Linked DNA regions of Homo sapiens: all the other regions are linked to region 2. Evidence: promoter capture Hi-C in human tissues and cell types (Jung and others, 2019). All regions are on one chromosome and are shown on one strand. Each heading gives the region's core, a stretch centred on a gene start or on the middle of the fragment in contact. The rest is flanking DNA. Distances are from core to core; before and after follow the strand shown.

What was found. The method cuts DNA at HindIII sites, captures the fragments that hold promoters and counts their contacts. A contact is called where the count stands out against the background at its distance.
Region 1: a fragment that was not itself captured here is called in contact with the fragment with the promoter of SPIDR in region 2 in 1 of the 25 tissues and cell types used here (dorsolateral prefrontal cortex).
Region 3: a contact is called between a fragment that was not itself captured here and the fragment with the promoter of SPIDR in region 2, in 1 of the 25 tissues and cell types used here (spleen).

What each region holds. Positions count from the first base shown.
Region 1 is chr8:47,778,147-47,780,846 of GRCh38, forward strand. It overlaps PRKDC (protein kinase, DNA-activated, catalytic subunit), which reads right to left. Exons shown (of 86, transcript NM_006904.7): 81 at 858-947; 82 at 582-653; 83 at 313-514. Among named protein-coding and RNA genes, the nearest start is that of CEBPD, 41 kb to the left of the region's middle. The HindIII fragment of the contact is 6,770 bases long and covers 1-2,700 here.
Region 2 is chr8:47,259,688-47,262,387 of GRCh38, forward strand. It overlaps SPIDR (scaffold protein involved in DNA repair), which reads left to right and starts at 1,251. Exons shown (of 20, transcript NM_001080394.4): 1 at 1,251-1,304. The coding sequence starts at 1,272. RefSeq lists a silencer at 965-1,514. The HindIII fragment of the contact is 26,545 bases long and covers 1-2,700 here.
Region 3 is chr8:47,822,744-47,825,443 of GRCh38, forward strand. It overlaps PRKDC (protein kinase, DNA-activated, catalytic subunit), which reads right to left. Exons shown (of 86, transcript NM_006904.7): 64 at 1,115-1,253. Among named protein-coding and RNA genes, the nearest start is that of CEBPD, 86 kb to the left of the region's middle. RefSeq lists an enhancer at 2,539-2,700. The HindIII fragment of the contact is 5,482 bases long and covers 1-2,700 here.

The sequences.
Region 1 (2,700 bases), core at 145-2,644, 520 kb after region 2:
AAAAGATCTGTATCACATTTTTGACCAGACATTTTTATTACGGGGCTTCCTAAAACTTTCTTAGAGTCTTCCTTTGATCTGCGAACACATTTAATTACCGGCTCTGATGATATCACTGATCACCATGACTTCTGTGACCTGACTGAATGAGGCTGAACTAAGTGATTATCCCTTTCTGCATTCAATGACCATGACAAAACGAATCTAACTAATATGTTGTTTTTCCTTAAAAACTGTCTATTTCTGGAGGTTGTTGAAAGTCCTATGATGACTCTCGCCTTGCCCAGGATCACGAGAGCACAGCAAGTGCACCTGTGTAGCGGATCCAAACGCATGCCCAAAGTCGATCCCGATCACGCCGCCAGTCTCCATGGCCACCATAAAGTTGTTCAGATGTCTGTCTCCAATCCCGAGGATCCAGTGGCTGATGCATATCAGAGCGTGAGAGCTGGCGAAGTGGGAGCGGAGCGCCAGGAAAGCCTCAGGGCTTGTACTCATCCTCACGAAGGCCCGCCTACAAAAGAGACACAGCTGTGCGGCTGCTGTGATCCCACTAAGGGTGAGGGCAGAAGGGTACTTACTTTAAGAGATCAGCAGGCACTTTACTTTCTCGTTTTCTAAAAGACGTGACTGTTTCAGTACGATTAGCGCCCCTATGATTTAATAATAGAAACATCTAATTAGAAAAAATTTCTCTGACTTAAAATTTAAATTTTAAAACTTTTTGTTTATATTGAGACTCAAATATCGAATAATCTTGATGATCTCTCTGAGGCAAAGCTAAGAATCAAAAGAAAACATGCAATTTGCAGAAGAATGAACTAACTAATACAAAGAAAAATCAAAACCAAACTTACTTATACATTAGCATGTAAGCTCCAACATCATGTTTTCCTGACATTTTTGTCAGCCAATCTTTATATTCACACGGCGGTGCCCTGGGATCACTAATGAGTGAGAAAAGGGGAATTGGAATTAGGAAGATTTTAGCATTATGTGATTTCAAAGGCAAAGATCACCAAGAATTCATTGAAAAATAGCAAAGAGGCAGGAAAAAATAATAAGACTTTTAACCATATTCAATATTAACATTGAACCCACATTACTCTGGATCTTGAATTTCAATATACCATTATTCATTCTTAATTACTCCTAAAGAAATCCAAGCTATTGCCTATGAAAAATTCAGGTACAAAACCATCAGATCCAACAAATTTCCCACTGACATAGAGAGGAATAAGATGAACTAAACATAACTGTTTATTAACCAGGCATGCAATTCTGAAACTTTGACCTAGAAAGAACCATAGCAAGAGGGCGACAGCACCACAGGCGGCTGCTGGAAGCCTCAGGCCATGTCACTACCATAGCCAAAAAGCCCGCACAGTTTTGCTAAAGATGGATTATGTCTGTTTTTATCTTTATTTAGACCACTTCCACATCTTTTTCTTTTGTTTTTTTGAGATGGGAGTCTAGCTCTGTCGCCAGGCTGGAGTGCAGTGGTGCGATCTTGGCCCACTGCAACCTCTGCCTCATGGATTCAAGTGATTCTCCTGCTTCAGCTTCCTGAGTAGCTGGGATTACAGGCAAATGCCACCATGCTCAGCTAATTTCTGTATTTTTAGTAGAGACGGGGTTTCACCACGTTGGCCAGGCTGGTCTCGAATGCCTGACCTCGTGATCCGCCCGCCTCGGCCTCCCAAAGTGCTGGGATTACAGGTGTGAGCCACCACGCCTGGCCTCTTTTTCTTTTGTTTTGTTTTGTCTTTTTTTTTTTTTTTTTTTTGAGACAGAGTCTTACTCTGTCGCCCAGGCTGGAGTGCATTGGTGCAATCTCGGCTTGCTACAACCTCTACCTCCTGGGTTCAAGCAATTCTCATGCCTCAGCCTCCTAAGTGGCTGGGATTACAGGCGCCCGCCACTACACCCAGCTAATTTTTCTATTTTCAGTAGAGACAGGGTTTTGCCATGTTGACCAGACTGGTCTCGAATTCCTGACCTCAGGCGATCCGCCCACCTTGGCCTCCCAAAGTGCTGGGATTACAGGCGTGAGCTACTGCGCCCAGCCAGTGCCACATCTTTCTTTATATTTCCAATAGGTAGATATACACACAATCCATAGTAAGTATGAGAAAATATTTTGTTTTTCTTTTTTCTTCCAATAAGGCTTCTGCACTCCTATGAGAAAATATTTTCTTAAATGACAATGGATGTTTAAGTGAACTTGAAAAGCTGTTTTCAGTGTTTCCTAGGAAAAAGGCAGTACCTGGGCAATGGGAAACAATGTGATACACGTATGTTTAAGTACTTTTGTGTGGAAAGCTTTAACAAGTTTTCCCGATAAAATCTAAAGACAGAACAGTTTCACGTGTGACTTAGCAATTCAATCACTTCAGGTGAAATCTTTTCTGAGTTGCTATTAAAGTTAGCTTTAAAAGTAGTCCACTCCATCTTAAAATTCTCTCCTCCTAGTTTAAACTGAGATGAAAATTCTTAGGTTATAAAACTGTAGGCCGGGCGCAGTGGCTCAGGCCTGTAATCCCAGTACTTTAGGAGGCCAATGGGGGCGGATCACGAGGTCAAGAGATCAAGATCATCCTGGCCAACATAGTGAAATCCCATCCCTACTAAAAATACAAAAATTAGCTGGGCATGGTGGTGCACGCCTGTAATCTCAGCTACTCGGAAGGCTGAGGCAGG
Region 2 (2,700 bases), core at 1-2,500:
GCCCGGCGGAGGTGGCAATGGCAGACCTGGTTTCTCGGCGGAGTCCCAGTGGGAGGCCCGGTGTCCAAAATCCTCAACTAGATTGGGCATGCCGTTTATCTTGTTCCAACTGTTGACAGTAATGGCACTAGCAATAATGTCCTTCCCAGGCAAAGATGGTTTTTCTTCCGTGTTTTCAGCCACTGCAGAGTGGACATCTACTATGAACCAAGTATCTGCGGCTTTAGGTACCAGATTCAAACACAGAATGGTGGCAGAACAGGGACTAGGACGGAGAGAAAACCTGAAGATGGATCAACCAGGAAGCAATGCATTCTCACAGAGGCACAAAAAAATGCCTCTGAAACAGAAGATTCACCTCCACTTCTGCGTCCTTTTGAGGCAACTTTCTGAGCATCCTTTCCTCCTCCCCAGGCCAACGCTTTTCCACCTTGTTAAACTACCCGGTAGCTTTCTCCATGGGAGGCGCCTTCTTCACAGTACTCGGACCCAGTTACACTTGTGGCCTTCCCCGGCTTCTGCTGGGCCGGCTATGGTCGACGCCGCACCGTCTCAGGCCCACTTCTCCTGCGGGAGCGGCGGCCCCAGCGGAGCCCCTGTGCGCCACGGCGAACGTGATAGGAATGCAATCTTCCGCCCCTTCAGACTCTGGCACCCCGTAGCCTTTCCTCAGGCTCCACGAGTTCTCCCGGTGATGTGATGACCGACATGGCGTCTGGGCTCTGAACACAGACTTTACTCCTTCCCCCCGGCCCCGAAACATGGGGAAACCACACCCTCTCTGCTCCAGTCACCAGCAGCCACTCCCATTCCTTAAGTATCCATTATTGCATGTGTAGCCTATTGCATGTGTAGCCTACTTCTGGTTTTCATTTTTATTTAAGGTCAGTTGTTGCCTGACAACACAGACGACAGTAACTTAATTCGAAAGACAATACTTGGAGGCGGCCCCCGCTCCAGGCACCAGCCCAGCAGCTCCCCCGAACTCCCCAGGAGCTCGCGGGCGAGCAACGCCACAGCCCAGAGCGAGCTCCGCGGAACCCCCAGCCCCGGGGAAGGAAGCTCGACTCTCCGCGGGGCACTCCTTCCGGGCTCCGGGCCCGACTAGGCCATCCGGGAGGCCCTGGAGCGCCGGGGCCGGAGAAGCCCTGCCCCCCGCCGAAGCCCCGCCCTGCGCCCGAGCGCCCGCCAATGGCAGGGCGCGGTGCGGCGCGCCGAGGTGGGACGGCGGCGCGCTGAGGAGGCGGTGCGCTCAGGCGGCGCTCCCGGAGATGCCCCGCGGCAGCCGCGCTCGGGGCTCTAAGGTAGGCTCTGGGGCGGGAGTGGGCGCCGCGCCGTTTCCCGCGTTGCGGGGAAGCGGCGGGCCGGCGCGGGGCTGGCCCCGTTGTGCTGGGGTGAGAGAGGGTGGGCGTTGGGGGTGAAGGGCTAGGTGGTGGCGGGTCCCGTCTGCGCGCGTGGAGCAAGCCCGCGCAGTGGGGTACCGCCCCCAGGTCCGGCTCCGGTCCAGGCGTGCGGGCCGGGCCCTCAGCGGCGGTACGGAAAGCGAGGGGTGGGACCGCCGAGGGACGCAGCGGGCGGGAGCATATGTCCGCCTCGGGGGTACTTGGCCTTACTCTTGTCTCTTTTTGATTCTGGTGTAATGTACCAAACCGCAGGGAATCCTGGCGTGGTTTTACCCGTCTCCGCGGATAATCCACTGTCAACTCTGTCTCTCTTCCTGCCGCACTCGGAGGGGACTGTGCGGCTGACTGCCCAATCCGTGGGCACCGCGCTGCCTCGGGTTCCAGAACGGGAGCGGGTGCCTAGGAATCGTTGCTTGAATGGTGTTTGATTGCACCTGTATCCGCGAGTGCATCCTTTTTTGTTCTGCTAATTGTGCTTGTCATGGCATGTGTCCTTTATCGTTTTAAAGTTTCTTCTAACTTCCTTGCTTTCAAATACGTTTGTCTCATAGTAAAACGGTTTTTAAAAAGCAAACACAGGACCTCCTTTCTTGACTCTTGCCTTTACTTGAAAACTTCCTGGAAAAAATAGACCACATATACTGGTTCAACTTCTTTACCACTACCATGCTTTCTCGCTTCTCAAATACCATTGATTATCAGCCCACACTATCAGTTTTGTGACTGGCTTTAGGGAATAAAGAAATTCATTTCAGGCACCTCTTGATTATAAGATACAGTCTGATTTCTGAAGCATTAATGTGTGAAAAAAATCAAGGAAATATATAAATTTGCTAAATCCAGTGTAAGTTGTTTACTTGATCATTGGAGCGTTTGACACATTCACCACCTGCTTTTATTTCTTTTGGAACATCCATGATTGTTTTCCTGTCTTGCAACAGCTCATTTTCTTCTCTTTACTGTGTTCGTGCCATGTTCTAATTTTTGACCTTGTGCTTTTTCACATGTTCCATATTTGCTTTGGACAATGTCATACATTGAAGTTAACTATATAGATGACTTTCAGATCTATATTAGATCTTTCCCTAGAGCTCAAACTTAGTGCATCACATAATCATCATCTCACCCTTAGTCCTCCAGGCCCTAACAGTTTCTCTTGACTTAGAAATCTTAGTATTTTTGAATTGACGTTCACTTCTGGTCTCTTCATCTTGTCATTTTTCAAGACTCTTTTTTTTTACTCAATTTTTTTTAGTAGTCGTACAGTTGTCTATTGTGTAATACGTTGCTGAAAACT
Region 3 (2,700 bases), core at 44-2,543, 560 kb after region 2:
TGCGCCACTGCACTCCAGCGTGGGCGACAGAGTGAGACTCTCAAAAACAAACAAACAAACAAAACCTGGACTGCTCATTGAAGAGTCTCACAGGTCACAGACCCTGAATTTCAACACCTACACTTGAATAGCCACTGACGGAATGTACAAAACTGAACTTATATTCATCTTCCCAAATTCTTCTTTACCTCTGATGTAATTTGAATATGTGTCCCCACCTAAACCTCATGTTGAAATGTAATCCTCAATGTCAGAGGTGGGGCCTGGTGAGAGGTGTTTGGATCAATGGGGGGCAGATCCCTCATGAATGAAGTGGGCCATTCCCTTGGTGATGAGTGATCCTAGCACTTTGGGAGGCCCAGGCATGATGGCTTGAGCTCAGGAGTTCCCAACCAGCCTGGGCAACATAGTGACACCTCATCTCTACAAAAAAATTTCAAAAATTAGCCAGGCATGTTGGTGCATGCCTGAAGTCCCAGCTACTCAGGTGGCTGAGGTGGGAGGACCGCCGGAGCCTGGGAGCCATGATAGTGCCACTGCACTCCAGCCTGGGTGACAGAATGAGACTCTGCCTCTAAATAAATAAAAGTATATGGCACCCCCTCCCCAACTGTCTCTCTTTTGCTACTGCCTTTCACCATGTGAAATGCCTACTCCTGCTTCGCCTTCTACCAATGCATAAAAGCTTCCCAAGGCCTCCCCTGAAGCCAAGCAGAAGGCAGCACCATACTTCCTGTGCAGCCCGTGGAACCGTGAACCAATTAAACCTCTTTTCTTTATAAATTGCCCAGTGTCAGGTATTTCTCTACAGAAATGCAAGAACAGCCTAATACAATTTCTTTATAATTTTTTTTTTTAACTAACTGAAAGAAAACAACCTATTCAAACAGAAACTGTGTAAGAGCAGAGAAATAATATACAGTTTCATAGTATGGTAGGCCCTAACTTAAGTGAACAACCTATAAGGAAACCAATTTTCTTCCTCATCAACATTGTAACGAAAAGACATTGAACCAACAAGGATCTGCTGTACCTCGTTTTGCTTAAAGTCATAGTTCAGCAGAAAACAAAAGTGTTGAAGTAAATGTCATATTTTGCCAGAGATCAATTTTACCTCATCATACTGCTTAGCAGCTTCAGAATAATCACTTCTGGCTTCTGCTAATAATGCACTCTGAGTGATTTGCTTTGTTCCTATCTCACTGGTAAAAATCCCACGGAGGACGTCGTATTCTCCAATTGATCTATACAGCCTACAAAACAAATCAAAAAGGCCAAATCAATGAACACTCCAGTATTTTAAAAGTATTTATTCTAATGAAATGATAGTAAATCAAGTTGCCACACATTATATTAACAAGAGACATAAAGTGTTACTTTAATTTTGCTAAAAATATAAAATTTAAGAAACTATGAAGTTGCCCTTAGGTTTTATAACTTTAATCATACATAAGCCAGAAATTATTCAGATGTGCATTTAAAGTGGAATCTGGGACGGGCGTGGCGGCTCACCTGAGGTCAGGAGTTCAGATCAGCCTGGCCAACATGGTGAAACCCCGTCTCTACTAAAAATACAAAAAATTAGCTGGGCATGGTGGCGCATGCCTGTAGTCCCAGCTACTTGGGAGGCTGAGGCAGAGAACTGCTTGAACCCAGGAGGTGGAGGTTGCAGTGAACCAATCACCCTACTGCACTCCAGCCTGGGCAACAGCAAGACTCCGCCTCAAAAAAAAAAAAAAAAAAAAAAAAAGGTGGAATCTGAAAATATCAAAGGTTCACAGTGTATAAGATGTGTCATTACATAAGGTTCTCCAGTATTAATCCATTATAATATCTACAGGCGAACCATTTGGAATCCTTGTCTAGCTCCAAAAAACCCAGAAGCAAAAGAAAAAATAATCCTGACTACTGATGCCATGTTTAATCCATGTTCTATGGACCATCTCAATTTGTTGGAGCATTCATTCATCTCTTTACCTTAACAAAATTCTGGCTTGACCCTTTCAATCAAGCTTCCCAGTCCATGATATTCTCAAAGTGTTTATGGGGTTTGTTCCCTTCCTCCAGGAAATTTCTTTCCATCTTGCAGTCTCAACCCAAATGTTATTTCTTCCTAAACCAGCCAGCCAAGGACTGCTCCCTCCTTAGTTCTCCTGCTGTTCAGTTCCCTTCTGGGTACTAAGCCTCTTGCATTTACATCAAAAGAGCCCTACAGGTTCTCTCCTAGAGCTTATGAATTCTGAATTCAATAAAATCTAGTAGATGCAGCTCTCTTATTGCCCTGATTACAGAATGTTAGGGGTAATAAATCAGCAGTAAAGGTGGGTGGGTAGGTAGGTGATGGAGCAGCAGCTCATGGCCCCAGAGTCAGGGAAGAGGGAGAGCTACATTCTGCATAGACTCAGGAAAGAGATCACCTACATACCCCTATACTGGTTCCATTGTCCCTGGATTATGTTCACTATAACATGGTTAGAACAATGGCCATGACATATCAAAAAAAAGGCTAAGGCCGGGTGTGGTGGCTCATGGCTGCAATCCCAGCACTTTGGGAGGCCGGGGCGGGCGGATCCTGGCTAACACGGTGAAACCCCATCTCTACTAAAAATACAAAAATTAGCTGGGCGTGGTGGCAGGTGCCTGTAATCCCAGCTACTTGGGAGGCTGAGGCAGGAGAATCGCTTGAACCCGGGAGGTGGA